Regions from separate parts of the Homo sapiens genome. Here all the other regions are linked to region 3. Evidence: promoter capture Hi-C in 16 types of primary human blood cells and fetal thymus (Javierre and others, 2016). All regions are on one chromosome and are shown on one strand. Each heading gives the region's core, a stretch centred on a gene start or on the middle of the fragment in contact. The rest is flanking DNA. Distances are from core to core; before and after follow the strand shown. Region 1 holds the start of LOC100129617 (a long non-coding RNA gene). Region 2 overlaps CMIP (c-Maf inducing protein). Region 3 holds the start of CMIP (c-Maf inducing protein). Region 4 overlaps CMIP (c-Maf inducing protein).

Region 1 (2,845 bases), core at 262-2,761, 220 kb after region 3:
GAGCGCGACTTTGCACTCCTTTAGTGTGTGCTGCGCACAGCGAGGTCCTTCCAGAGAGCACTGTATGGAAGGGGGCAGGAGTAGCCTTGCAGTGGAGAAACCAGACACACTCAGCCTCAGCCAGGTGATCAAGGTCAACATCGACAACAACAAGCCAGTTAGACAGAATATTCCCTTCATAGGACGTATAAAAACGACACTTGACCTCTATGGTCTTCCTCCCAGTAACCCATCACCCCATTCCAATCATGAGAAAAACATCAGACAAATCCCAACAAGGGGACAGTCTACAAAGTACCTGGCCAGTACTCCCCACGGTCAAGGTCATCAAAAACAAGGAGATTCTAAGAAACTGTCACAGCTCAGAGGAGTCTACGGGGGCGTAACGACTAAATGTCATTTGGGGCTCTCCATGGGATCCCAGAACAGAAAAGGGACATGAAGGGAAAACTGAGGAAATCTGAATAAAGCTTGGCCTTTAATTTTTTTTTTTAAATACAAAAGCAGGATTTAATTGCACACTTAGAGCGGGTGGGGCGCTTGTAATCTGTGTGGCCCCTTGGTGTTCCCTCATCATTCCAGGGACAGCAGCAAATGCCATTATTTGCCCTGTATGTCACGAGGAAACTGAGGCTTAGCTAGGTCCACTAAGTGGCCACAGGGACCACAGGTAGGAATAAGAATAACATCTTTTTGCAGATGCTTATTGAACACTTTCTTGGAGTCAAGAGTGTGGTGCTCTTTGAGTGTATTGTGTTATTAACCCTCATGCCATTCCCATGACACCTGTGCATAGGAGGAATCTGGGACCCAGAGAGGTGGGACGGGATAGGCAGGGTCTGATGAGCAGCTGTGGGTGGTCCTGGTGGGAGCTAAGGAGCAGGCAGCCTGAGGCCAGGGCCCATTCCCAATCACATGTTGTACTGAGCCAGCCACCACGTTAGATTTTAGAGTCTCCTGGAGCACGTGAAAACAACTGAAAAAGGGTAACCACACATCATTTCACTTGTGATGTAGCTTGCCTGTCTCCACACCATGCCCCTGAAGAATAGTATATCACCTACAGCCCCTTCCCCAGTCAGGAATGGAAGTGCATGACACATGTGCTCCTCTACCCCTTCCATGCTCATGGCAGACATCATTAATCAATTATAGCACTCTTTCTGTAGAGCCAGAGACAGCATCACACTCTTTCCCCTCCTGCATTCCAGGCCACCACTACCAACTGAAATCGTGTTAGTACCATAATGAATGCTATGTACCATTCTCTACCCTAAGCGATTGCAAACTGTAAATGAATTGTTGCTGATTTCTGAGCCCCTCCTAGATTTGGGGTAAATTCATTTCTTGTTTTCAGAACACAGGGGATAGGGACACCCTGTGCAGTTCTTTCTCCAGGACAAGGAGACTCCCCACTGGGGGATGGGGCGGGGTTTCTGCCTTAATTTGGGCGCTCATAGTTTCAAGGAGGAGCTCTTTCTGGCTTTGGCCAGCTAGAAGGAAAGGTGCCCTGTTTGTTAACTTTAAAATCACTACGGGTGTAGTGTATGGAGTGGGCTGTGCCATGCTGGAGTTCAGAGCAAAGGTTCTTCAGGTTTTCTTGCGAAGGACCTTAACTTGTCAATGGCAGAGCCACACCCCCGGGACATACTTGGCAGAGGAATGCCTCTTCAGGCACATAAACATTTTTGCATACTCCATGTTAGTCAATAAACCGTTTCATAAGGGTTCTTTGAGGACATCTGACTTCAAAGGGAAAAAATTCATAATTCAGACAGGCTCTCGGGGCTTCACCATACAACGCCTTTCTTGTATTTGGTTAGTTTTATGGGCCTGGAGTGTTGACCATGTATTAATTTTCTCTATAAAAATCAGAACCGCTCTGGGCAGACCCAGAATTTATAGTATCTGTGGCAGTCTGGCAGAGAGTAGGGACCCTCAGCCATGAGTCCTCGCCTCACTTGTAACGAGTACCCCCTAAGTGATCCCAGGTGTCTGGGGATGCTTTAACGCACCCAGATCCCACCTTGCTCTTGGCGCCTCCTAATTACACACCATGAGCGGCGGCGGCAGAGGAGAACTGCTGGGAGGACCGAGGAGGATCCGCCTCTCGTGTAGAAGAACAGACTGTATTAAACAGTGATTATGGCCATGCCAGGCACAGGAAGACCTGACCTCATGGAATCCTAACAACACAGGCGGTGGGCGAGAGAGAGCTTTGACATTTACTCACTGAATGCGCCCTGATGCTTAATGAGTGGCACGGGTCAGCAGCACCGTTGTGGAGCTGGGGCTCTCAGCTGGTGTGGGGGGGGGGTCATGTCTCTGGCTAAGGAGCGTACCTAGCCTGCCTAAGCCATGAGCCTGTTGGGGTGGCATGAACAGTGACTGCTCTTCACCCCAAATGCAGTGTTTCTCCTTAAGGAGGCACTCAGACATTTAGGAAACGGGGGGAACGTAGCCACGGTGCTGTTCTGGGATTTGGGGGCTCCCCCATTCTGGGTGCATCTCTTGCAAATATGTTATGTGCTCCCTTTCACGGATGAGCAAACTGAAGCTTTGAGAGTCTCAAAGAATGTTCTTTACTAGACTGAAATAAAAACTAGAAACAAAAGGAAGCGGTTCTTTAGTATGTTCCTCTGGAGATTCAGTCCAAATAATTCGCCAAACTGCGTTCTGAAGAATGACCATGTATCTCTGTGCCCCCACGCCACTCGGAGTGTTCTTGTGGCAAAGGAGGCGAGAAGACACGGCTGTGGTCCCCAGTGGACCGTCAAGTAACCTAACCTCCAGTTTTCCAAGGGGAGCGTATTTTTCAGAGGCTGCTGGATCCCTCTGTAAATGT
Region 2 (2,742 bases), core at 160-2,659, 180 kb after region 3:
CCAGGGTTTCAAGGTGAGAGACCCAGGTATGCACAGCTGTGAGGGACAAGTCTGTCCATGTGAACAGGCCCAGGTGACAGGTCCAGGCTACTGGGCTGTGAGGAGACACACACCAGGCTCCTAGAGGAGCCCCGAGAAGCCAGGATGCACCTGCTATGGGAGCTGGAGCTCCTGGTGCCTCTCCACCTTCTCGCTTCCTGAGAGGGGTTCCTCAGGCCGAGGCACACTAGTCCTGGAAACCAAGATGGTTTTTCCCCAGGGGAAGTGAGGTCACTCAGAACAGCCCCAGGGGCCAAGCCCCAGAGCCGGGGACCAATGAGCAGACTGTGTGTCACAAGAAGCTGGCCTGTATTCCTGTCCCAGGGCTGCCAGGGCCAGAGGAGTGCCCTTGGCTCTGGGAAAATCCCAGCCCAGCTTTGGATCCTTTCTGGCTGCCTGCCCTGGCCACGCTGCCTTCTTCTTGCTGGGCAGGTTTCCCAGCCCCCTAGGGTGGCCACAGCCCCTCGATCACCGCATCCAGGCCCAGGCCTCTGTCCCTCCTCTGTGGAGAAAGGTGGAAAAGAATGTGGGGTGTGTGAGTGTGAGAGTGAGTGTGTGTGCGCGTGAGAATGTGTGTAAGAGTGAATGTGTGAGTGTGTGTGAGAGCGAGAGTGACTGAGTGTGACTGTGTGTTGTGTGGGGTGACTATTTTATGAGTGTGGTGAGGTGACTGGTGTGTCTGTGTGTGGTGTGTGAGGTGACTGTTTTGAGTATGTGTGGTGACTATTTTATGAGTGTGTGTGGCGTGTGGGGTGACTATGAGTGTGTGTGGGGTGTGGGATGACTATCTTATGAGTGTGTGTGTGTATGTGTGGCATGTGGGGTGACTTTTATGAATGTGTGGGGTGACTGAGCATGTGTGTGTGTGGTGTGTGGGGTGACTATGGGTGTGCATGTGTGTGTGGTGTGTGGGTGGCTTATGAGTGTGTGAGTGGTGTGTGGGGTGACGGTGTGCGTGTGTGTGTGGTGTGTGGGTGGCTTATGAGTGTGTGTGTGTGGTGTGTGGGGTGACTATTTGTGTGTATATGTGGCATGTGGGGTCATTTGTATGAGGGTGTGTGGTGTGGGGAGATTATTTTATGACAGTGGGTGTGGGTGTGTGTGTGGTGTGTGGAGTGACAGAGAGAGAGAGAGTGTGTGTGTGTGTGTGTGTGTGTGTGTGGGGTGCATATGGGGTGACTATTTTATGAGTGTGTGTGTGTGTCCTGTGGGGTAACTATTTTATGTGTGTGTGTGTGGCCTGTGGGGTGACTATTTTATGTGTGTGTTTGTGTATGTGTGGTGTGTGGGGGTGACTGAGTGTGTGTGTGGCATATGGGGCGACTATTTTATGAATGTGTGTGTGTGTGGCCTGTAGGGTGACTGTTTTATGAGTATGTGTGCATGGCATGTGAGGTGACTGTTTTATGTGTGTGTTTGTGTATGTGTGGTGTGTGGGGGTGACTGTGAGAGTGTGTGTGTGGTGTGTGTGTGGCATATGGGCCAACTATTTTATGAATGTGTGTGTGTGTGGCCTGTAGGGTGACTATTTTATGAGTGTGTGTGTGTGGCATGTGGGATGACTGTTTTATGTGTGTGTGAGTGTGTGTGTGGCCTGTGGGGATACTATGAGTATGCTGGTTTGGAGTGTGTTTCTTTGGGCCTCAGTTTTCTCCTCTGTGGAATGGGGATGATCATGGCGTCTCGTCACTGGGCCGTGTGAGGATCGAAGGCTGTGTTGTTTGTGCAGCAGGCAGAAGGGATCCTGGTAGGAGCCCACGCGTGGGAGCCTCTCATGCGCCATCATCAGTGTCTCCAAGTGGGTCCGACATGGTGGGAGCAGCTGGCTCGGCCTGTCTCCCTGGCAGCCCCTTCCAGCCTCCACAGGTGGTCCCGGCTGACTCATGGCCTGGGAGGGCTAGGGTGGGTGGGAAGCCCGCCCTCGAGACTGTCTCTGCCCGGCTCTGGCCACGGAGTGTCCCCTGTGTCCAGCACTATGTGCCCCTGTGCTCCTGAGTCCGGAAACAGTTCTGTGGGGTCCACATCCCTCCCCCATCTCATAGCAGAGGGGACTGAGCGTCCAAGTGGATAAAGGATGAGGATAAAGGACCGTGCCAAAGCCAGATGCCTCCCAGCGAGGGTCACAATCTCGCTTCCACCTCATGAGTGGCTGCGGCGCCTCGGGAATGAGTCTGTTCCATGTTCTGTGTTGGGAGCTGGCGCTGGGGGACCACAACCCTCAAAGTCCCCAGCACCAAGGCAAAGTGCCTGGGGCTCAGAGAGGGGAAGCCCACCTGACGGGAAGCTGAGGGCAGGGCCTGGGTCATGTCCCCACTGGCTGCACCCTCAGGAGGGCGGGATCCATCACCCTCATCCCCATGCAGGGGAAAGGCCCAGGGGACCAGGTCAGAATGACACAGAGCCCTTGAGCTGATGCCTCCCCTGACCCCTCACTGAGGGCCATGCTAGAAGGGGGGATCCCTACAAAAGGGGAAATCCTGAGGCTCTGGACCGGGCCTCCAGTAGGGGCTGTCACCCCTGGCTCTGACCTTGCTCCCGGAGCCCACCTCCCCTGGGTCGCCTCCTGGTCATGGGAGCCTCCCTGGGGAAGAGCCACTCCTAGTGTCCTAGAGATGTGGCCCCAGGCGCTTTCTCCACCAGGCTGCAAATCCCTTCCCAAGCTCACATCCCCCAAGTCGTCATCCAGCCCAAGCCGAGCCCCCA
Region 3 (2,895 bases), core at 13-2,512:
CCAGGCTCGGGGAGAGGGTCCTCTGGGGAGCACCTTCATGCTGCCTGTTCTTGGGAGAGGGGGGGTGAATAATTTCCACCAACGGCACAGATGCTGTGGATATTCCGCAGTGTTCACGACGCAGTTCAACACACGCTGCACACATTCATGTGTTCACTACAGAGGCGCCTTCACTTAAAAAGGCAAAAATCTAGGGTTTTAACGTTATTAGCTGCAGGAGCACGTGGAGATAAGAAAACCTGGCTGAGGAGCTGAGCATTTGCTAGGTGGCCTTAGGTGCCGGCTGCTTGTGATGGCAGAAAGGGAGCTTTTTGCATCCAGGCTGCAGTTCCTGATACCCTGGGTCACAAGAGAATCGAATATGGTTCTCTCGTGGGCTGGTGCTGGGCCTGTGAACTCAGATAAAATGACCAGGTGGGGTCCCAGGGAAGGTGAAGTAGGGGGAGCTGCTGGGGTGCGCACAAGAGGGGTGGCTGTGTAGGTTGGGGGGTGCTTTAAGTGGGTTCCTAGAAGAGGCTCTGTCTCCCTGGGCAGAAGAAAGAAGGGGGATGGGCGGACCGTCCCCTCTCTCCAGAAGGTTTGAGGACCCCCAAGGCCAAAGCCAGCAGACGTCAAAGGCCAGGAGTTCGAGGCCGGCTGGGTCCCGCAGTGGGAGACAGGGCAGGGTGGGCTCATCCTCCGGATCACCGCGGGGACACTTTCAGTCGGGAAGGCGTCCCCGTCCCACGGCCCCATCTGGCCAGCCCGCTGGACAGCCTGGACAGCGGAGGGGGCGTCAGGGGTCGAGGGTTCCAGTCCCCGTCCTTCCACCCAGCCCCCGGCCCTCGGGTATCCTTCTTTACCCGTCCGAGTCCGGCCCGGGGGCGGCGGGGGTGGGTGAGGCGCGGGCCCCCAGGCTCCGGCAGCCTGGCTGGGCTCCCGCCCGGGCACCCGCGGGGGCGCGGCTGGCGTGACGTCACGCGCCCCGCCCCCGCGCCCCGCCCCCTCCCCACATTCCAGGCGGGGCGGGCCGGGACCCCGCGGGGCTCGCCCGCCCCAGCCCCCTCCCCAGGGGCTGCCCCTCCCGTCGGGCCGCGCCTCCCCGTCGTGGGCCGCGACCCCGCCCGGACCGCGGACTCCGCCCGCGAGAGGCCGAAGCCGCCGCGGCCGCCGCCGTTGCCGCCATTGACGTCAGAGGGGCGGGCACATGACCCTGCGGGGACCAATCGCGCGGGCGCCCCGGGCTCCGGGAGCCCGGCGCGCGGCCCGCCCCGCCCGCGGCCACTCTCGCCCGGACGGCCGCGCGGACACACGCTCTGTACACACGCGCGCGGCGGCGCGGGGCCCCGAGACACGCCCGCCCCCACCCCGCCGCCCCCACCCCGGCGCCCGCCCTCCGCGCCTGGCCCCGGCCCGCCCTCGGCCTCCCCCGCCCCTCCCCGTCGCCCGCCGAGCCCGGTCAGCCGCCGCGAGCATGCACCCGACGAGCTAGGAGGAAGCCCGGAGCCCCGCAGGAAGCGCCGAGGCCGGCCCAGCCCGCCGCACGCGCCGCCCCCCGCGGGCAGCGCCCCCTCCCCTGCGGGCGCCCCCAGCCCCACACCCCCCCACCTTCCCGGGGGGTGGGGGGGTGCGGGCCGCCGGATCCGGGGGCCCCGCCGCCCCAGCAGCCCAGGACAGCCCCCTCTCCCCGCCCCCAGCCCCCTCCCCCGGCGCGGCCATGGATGTGACCAGCAGCTCGGGCGGCGGCGGCGACCCCCGGCAGATCGAGGAGACCAAGCCGCTGCTGGGGGGCGACGTGTCGGCCCCCGAAGGCACGAAGATGGGCGCCGTGCCCTGCCGCCGGGCTCTTCTGCTTTGCAACGGGATGAGGTACAAACTGCTGCAGGAGGGCGACATTCAGGTCTGTGTCATCCGGCACCCGCGGACCTTTCTCAGCAAGATCCTCACCTCGAAATTCCTGAGGCGCTGGGAGCCGCACCACCTAACGCTGGCCGACAACAGCCTGGCGTCCGCCACGGTGAGTGGCTCTGCGCGGCTGCACCCCCGCCTCTCCTCGGGGCCCGAGATGCGCCCTCCCTGGCTGCCCCCTGGCGCTGCACCTGGAGCCCAGGGCCTGGGGGGCGGTGGGGGGTGCCGGGGGAACGGGGAGAACCAGGGCGCCTCGCTCCTGGCCTGCTCGCGGGGCTCGATTTTGGAGTCTGAAGCCCAAACCAGCCGACCGGGCTCAGGAGAGACCCTTAAAATGCTGGAGACTCGGCCCACCGCCAGGCTGGGTGCCTGGGGACCTTCTGCCCCCAGCTCTTGTGTTTCTGGTGGCTGGGACTCGAGGATGGACCCGACGCTGGGCCCTGATGGTGGTGGGGGTTCTCTCTGGAAGCCCCTGGCCCATCTGGATCTGAGGGGTGGGGGAGGGGAAAACAAAATACCACCCCTCAGATTTAAAAAAAAAAACAAACAACACAACAAAACCTCCAAACCCCCAAACCCAAAGAATTTCCAGAAGCCAGTTTCTCTGTTTGGTTTACCCGTCCTTTATTCTCTTTCCTGCCAGGGCTGGCAGGCAGAACGGGGTGCTTCCCTTTCTGAAAATCTCATTCGCACATTGAGAGGTTGGAAGTGGAGGGGGAGGGGGCAGTGGTCCTGGAATATCTCAGGACCCAGCGGTGGTCGAGTTCTAGCCTAGAAGCTGCTTGGTGGAGCCCTGGTCCGGCATTGTCTGTAGAGTGTGTGTATACGTGTGTGTTTTGTTGCTGGAGGTTTAATTTTGTTATTGTTTTTAAATACATGGGTAGGACTGGGTCAGCTGGATGAGTCGGAGAGGAAAAACCATTGATCTGTTTCTGAAATCAGATCTGCAAATGGTGGCCTTCTTCGTACGTGGAGAAAGACAGCTGTGGTGGGGTCGAGGGGAGAGTG
Region 4 (2,965 bases), core at 302-2,801, 140 kb after region 3:
TGATGCATCTCTTCTTGCATTGGAGGTGGTAATTTGTGGGTGCTATTATCATCGAAACAGCGATAGTAGAAAGAGATAGTCGTTCACTGCCTACTTGTTTGTAGACAGTAGCAACAGTGATCCTTGGGGGCCCAAGAGTCCCTCTTCACAAGGCCTGTTCACATACATTTACCTAGTGTCTCCCGTACTAGGAGAATTAAATCCCAGTAAGCCCTCACATTCCTCAGTGATCCGGTGTAACTCCAAGCACTGTAGCCTGCCACGCAAGGCTCTCTGTAATCGAGATTTAATCAGTTTTTATGACTCACCTCCTTCAACTTCTCTCTCTCTGCCCAATAAACTCCTATTCATCCTTCAAAGCCCAACTCAAACATCGCATACTCTCTGAAGTATTCGTCCCACTTTCCCTCGGGCTCCTCTGCCTCCACACCTGCACACATACACATGGAATTCTACTAATGTGTAGACATCTGACTCCCCACTCAACTGTGGAGTCCTTAAGGAAGGGGTTCTGGACTATGTCACACAGATGTTAGACAAATGAACCGAGGGGGCATTTGCATGGGTGCTTAAAGTGAGGTAAAGGAGAGAAGAAAGTAGAGAACTCAAAGAGGAGAGCTCGCTGGATTCAAATCTGGGGTGTTCCGGAATTCTAGGTATTCACCTAAGTCTGTTGGGACCCATGAGCTGTTTTCCCAATTTAGAAAAGTAAAGAACAGGCTACATGAGATGAAATCTGTGTGGTTGGTTTTTGTTTTTGATGCAGTGTGTGCAGTGTGATTCCCTAATAGCAGTTAACTGGTATTGATTTGAAACAGAAATGCAGAAGGGCAGGGAGTCAGAGGTGTTTATACAGGAGAAAGGGAACCTGCATGACTCATTACCACGGGGCAGGGTCTAGGGGAGCGCACTGGACACTGGAGCCAGCTTTACAGCTGGGGTCCACTCTGATGGGGCCGCCCATTCCTGGGCTGTACCAGCGATTAAACATTTGAAACACCACCTCTGCTCATTATATGATGAGTATGTTTGGTAGGCAGAATTTTGAAAGGTGGAGTGCTGTGGGTGGAATCGATGAGGCGGTCAGTCTGTGTCTGTGCCATATGTACTCGGGGGCCTGTGACCCAGTGGGGGGCCGGTTTCACCTCTGTTCAGCCAGAGCCACCACAAAGTCCTTGCTTCCCCAGCTGCTGCACAGATTGCGCAGATCATCATCCCCATCACGGTAAAGCTTTGAGGTGGGTGTTCTTCTCATTCCCATTTTACCAATGAAAAAACCAAAGGTGCTAGAGATGAAGTGGCCGCCAAAGGCCACCCAATGGGTGAGCTACAGCGCTGGAGTGGGAATCTCAGCCGTCTCTGCTCCATCTTCCAGAACTTTCCTCTACTGCTCCTGACTTCCTGAAGTGACCAAACCTGTCTCTCCCTCCTCCCCTGACTTCAGGGAGCAGATTTTTCATGGTGATTTTAGAGAGCACACGTTGATCCCCTCCTGAGGGTGAGAGCCTCAGATGTTTTGGGCCTGACTGTCCAGCCTCCTGGAGAAAGGTGGCCAGGTCCGTGTGTGGACAGCCAGTGTGCGGGTGCATGAGTCAAGCTCCCTTGTCACATATCCTGGAAACCCTCCATGGAAGCCTGCAGCCCCCAGGCCAGCGCTGAGGCAGGAACGGTCAGGGATTTCCCACTTGAAACACACCGTCTAAGGCTGCCGGCTCTTGCTTCCCCAGGAACTACTGCATTTGTCTTGATATTATACCCTGCCTGCCTCCAAGAGGACCGAGGCTTTTCAGAGCTGAGACACTGTGTGGAAGGAGGCAATTAGGATCAAACAGAACGAGACCCTCCGGATCCCCAGGGCTGGGCCGATCACCCCAAGCTTTGTTTGGCCGTCTCGGAGCTCTCTGTTGAGGTAGCAGAAAGGGAAAGACGGCTTGCATAGTTTTTGTTTTTTGGCCAGAAAAAGTACCCAAGTCTGTCTTTCAAAGTAGATGCCTTTCTTCTCTCTCTCTTTTTCCCCAGTCCCAGATTAAACCTCTTTTTAAGAGATTTGGGGGAGACTTGTCCCTTCCAGTTGATTCTCTGAAGGCAGAAGTTTTCTCTTTAAATCTGGAGCCACGCTTGTCAGGTGTGGTCCCGGTGTGCCACCGTCCATTGACCTCGTTTACGGGCAGGGTGCTGTACCTTGGGAGGCGCTGAGCAGTAGCCCCAGTGCTTCTCCAGCATTGTCGGTGTGACAATTACATCATTACCTACTTCTTCTGAAATGACATGGCCATGGCTTCAGTAATTGCCAAAACCCAACATCCTCGTTCTCTGTTATCTGCTTGGTTTGCTTTTCACCTACGCTTATCATCACTTAACATCCTGTGTATTTCACTTATTTGTCTTTTCTGTCTGTCTCCCCCAGCATGCAGGAGACCCTGTGAAAGCCGGTGTGCTGTTTAGTCGTGGGGCACAGCAGGCCCTCTGTGCTGTACACGCTGACATTCATTGAGCACTTACCATGAGCCAGACGTGGGCCTCCCGTCGTCTTCCTGTGGCCCTGTCTCCTGGCCTCTATCACTCCCATTTCACAGATGAGGAGACCGAGGTTCATAAAGCCCAACTGGCTCTCTAGCTGGGAGTCTCACAGCCTGTAAGAGGCAGAGCTGAGATATAAAGTCAGGTTTTCTGTTCTCAAAGCTGTGTTCTTTACCATTACAACTTGAGAAAAATGTATGAAAGGCCATAAACATATTCCGGTGCTCAGAATATTGTATTGCTTTTTTTTTTTCCTTTTCTTTCTTTGTTTTTCTTTTCTTTTTGAGGCAGTGTGTCACCCTGTGGTCCAGGCTGCTGCAGTGCAGTGGCGTGATCTCGGCTCACTGCAACCACTGCCTCCTTGATTCAAGCGATTCTCCTGCGTCAGCTTCCCAAGTAGCTGGGACTACAGGCGTGCACCACCACACCCGGGTAATTTTTCTGT

Evidence for each region. The method cuts DNA at HindIII sites, captures the fragments that hold promoters and counts their contacts. A CHiCAGO score of 5 or more calls a contact.
Region 1: a contact is called between a fragment that was not itself captured here and the fragment with the promoter of CMIP in region 3, in 16 of 17 cell types (naive B cells, total B cells, neutrophils and 13 more). The highest score is 18.5, in naive B cells.
Region 2: a contact is called between a fragment that was not itself captured here and the fragment with the promoter of CMIP in region 3, in 17 of 17 cell types (naive B cells, naive CD8 T cells, total B cells and 14 more). The highest score is 17.4, in naive B cells.
Region 4: a fragment that was not itself captured here is called in contact with the fragment with the promoter of CMIP in region 3 in 16 of 17 cell types (erythroblasts, megakaryocytes, neutrophils and 13 more); the score reaches 18.2 in erythroblasts.

What each region holds. Positions count from the first base shown.
Region 1 is chr16:81,664,663-81,667,507 of GRCh38, forward strand. The region is part of intron 7 of CMIP (c-Maf inducing protein); the gene reads left to right. It overlaps LOC100129617 (a long non-coding RNA gene), which reads left to right and starts at 692. Exons shown (of 1, transcript NR_045112.1): 1 at 692-2,614. The HindIII fragment of the contact is 2,087 bases long and covers 469-2,555 here.
Region 2 is chr16:81,625,617-81,628,358 of GRCh38, forward strand. All of the region lies in intron 3 of CMIP (c-Maf inducing protein), which reads left to right. Among named protein-coding and RNA genes, the nearest start is that of MIR6504, 16 kb to the left of the region's middle. RefSeq lists enhancers at 396-585, 1,767-2,388. The HindIII fragment of the contact is 7,087 bases long and covers 1-2,742 here.
Region 3 is chr16:81,443,546-81,446,440 of GRCh38, forward strand. CMIP (c-Maf inducing protein) reads left to right here and starts at 1,263. Exons shown (of 21, transcript NM_198390.3): 1 at 1,263-1,996. The coding sequence starts at 1,697. RefSeq lists enhancers at 104-636, 2,801-2,895 and silencers at 846-945, 1,056-1,405, 1,476-1,525, 1,956-2,255. The HindIII fragment of the contact is 9,361 bases long and covers 1-2,895 here.
Region 4 is chr16:81,586,308-81,589,272 of GRCh38, forward strand. All of the region lies in intron 1 of CMIP (c-Maf inducing protein), which reads left to right. Among named protein-coding and RNA genes, the nearest start is that of MIR6504, 24 kb to the right of the region's middle. The HindIII fragment of the contact is 645 bases long and covers 1,230-1,874 here.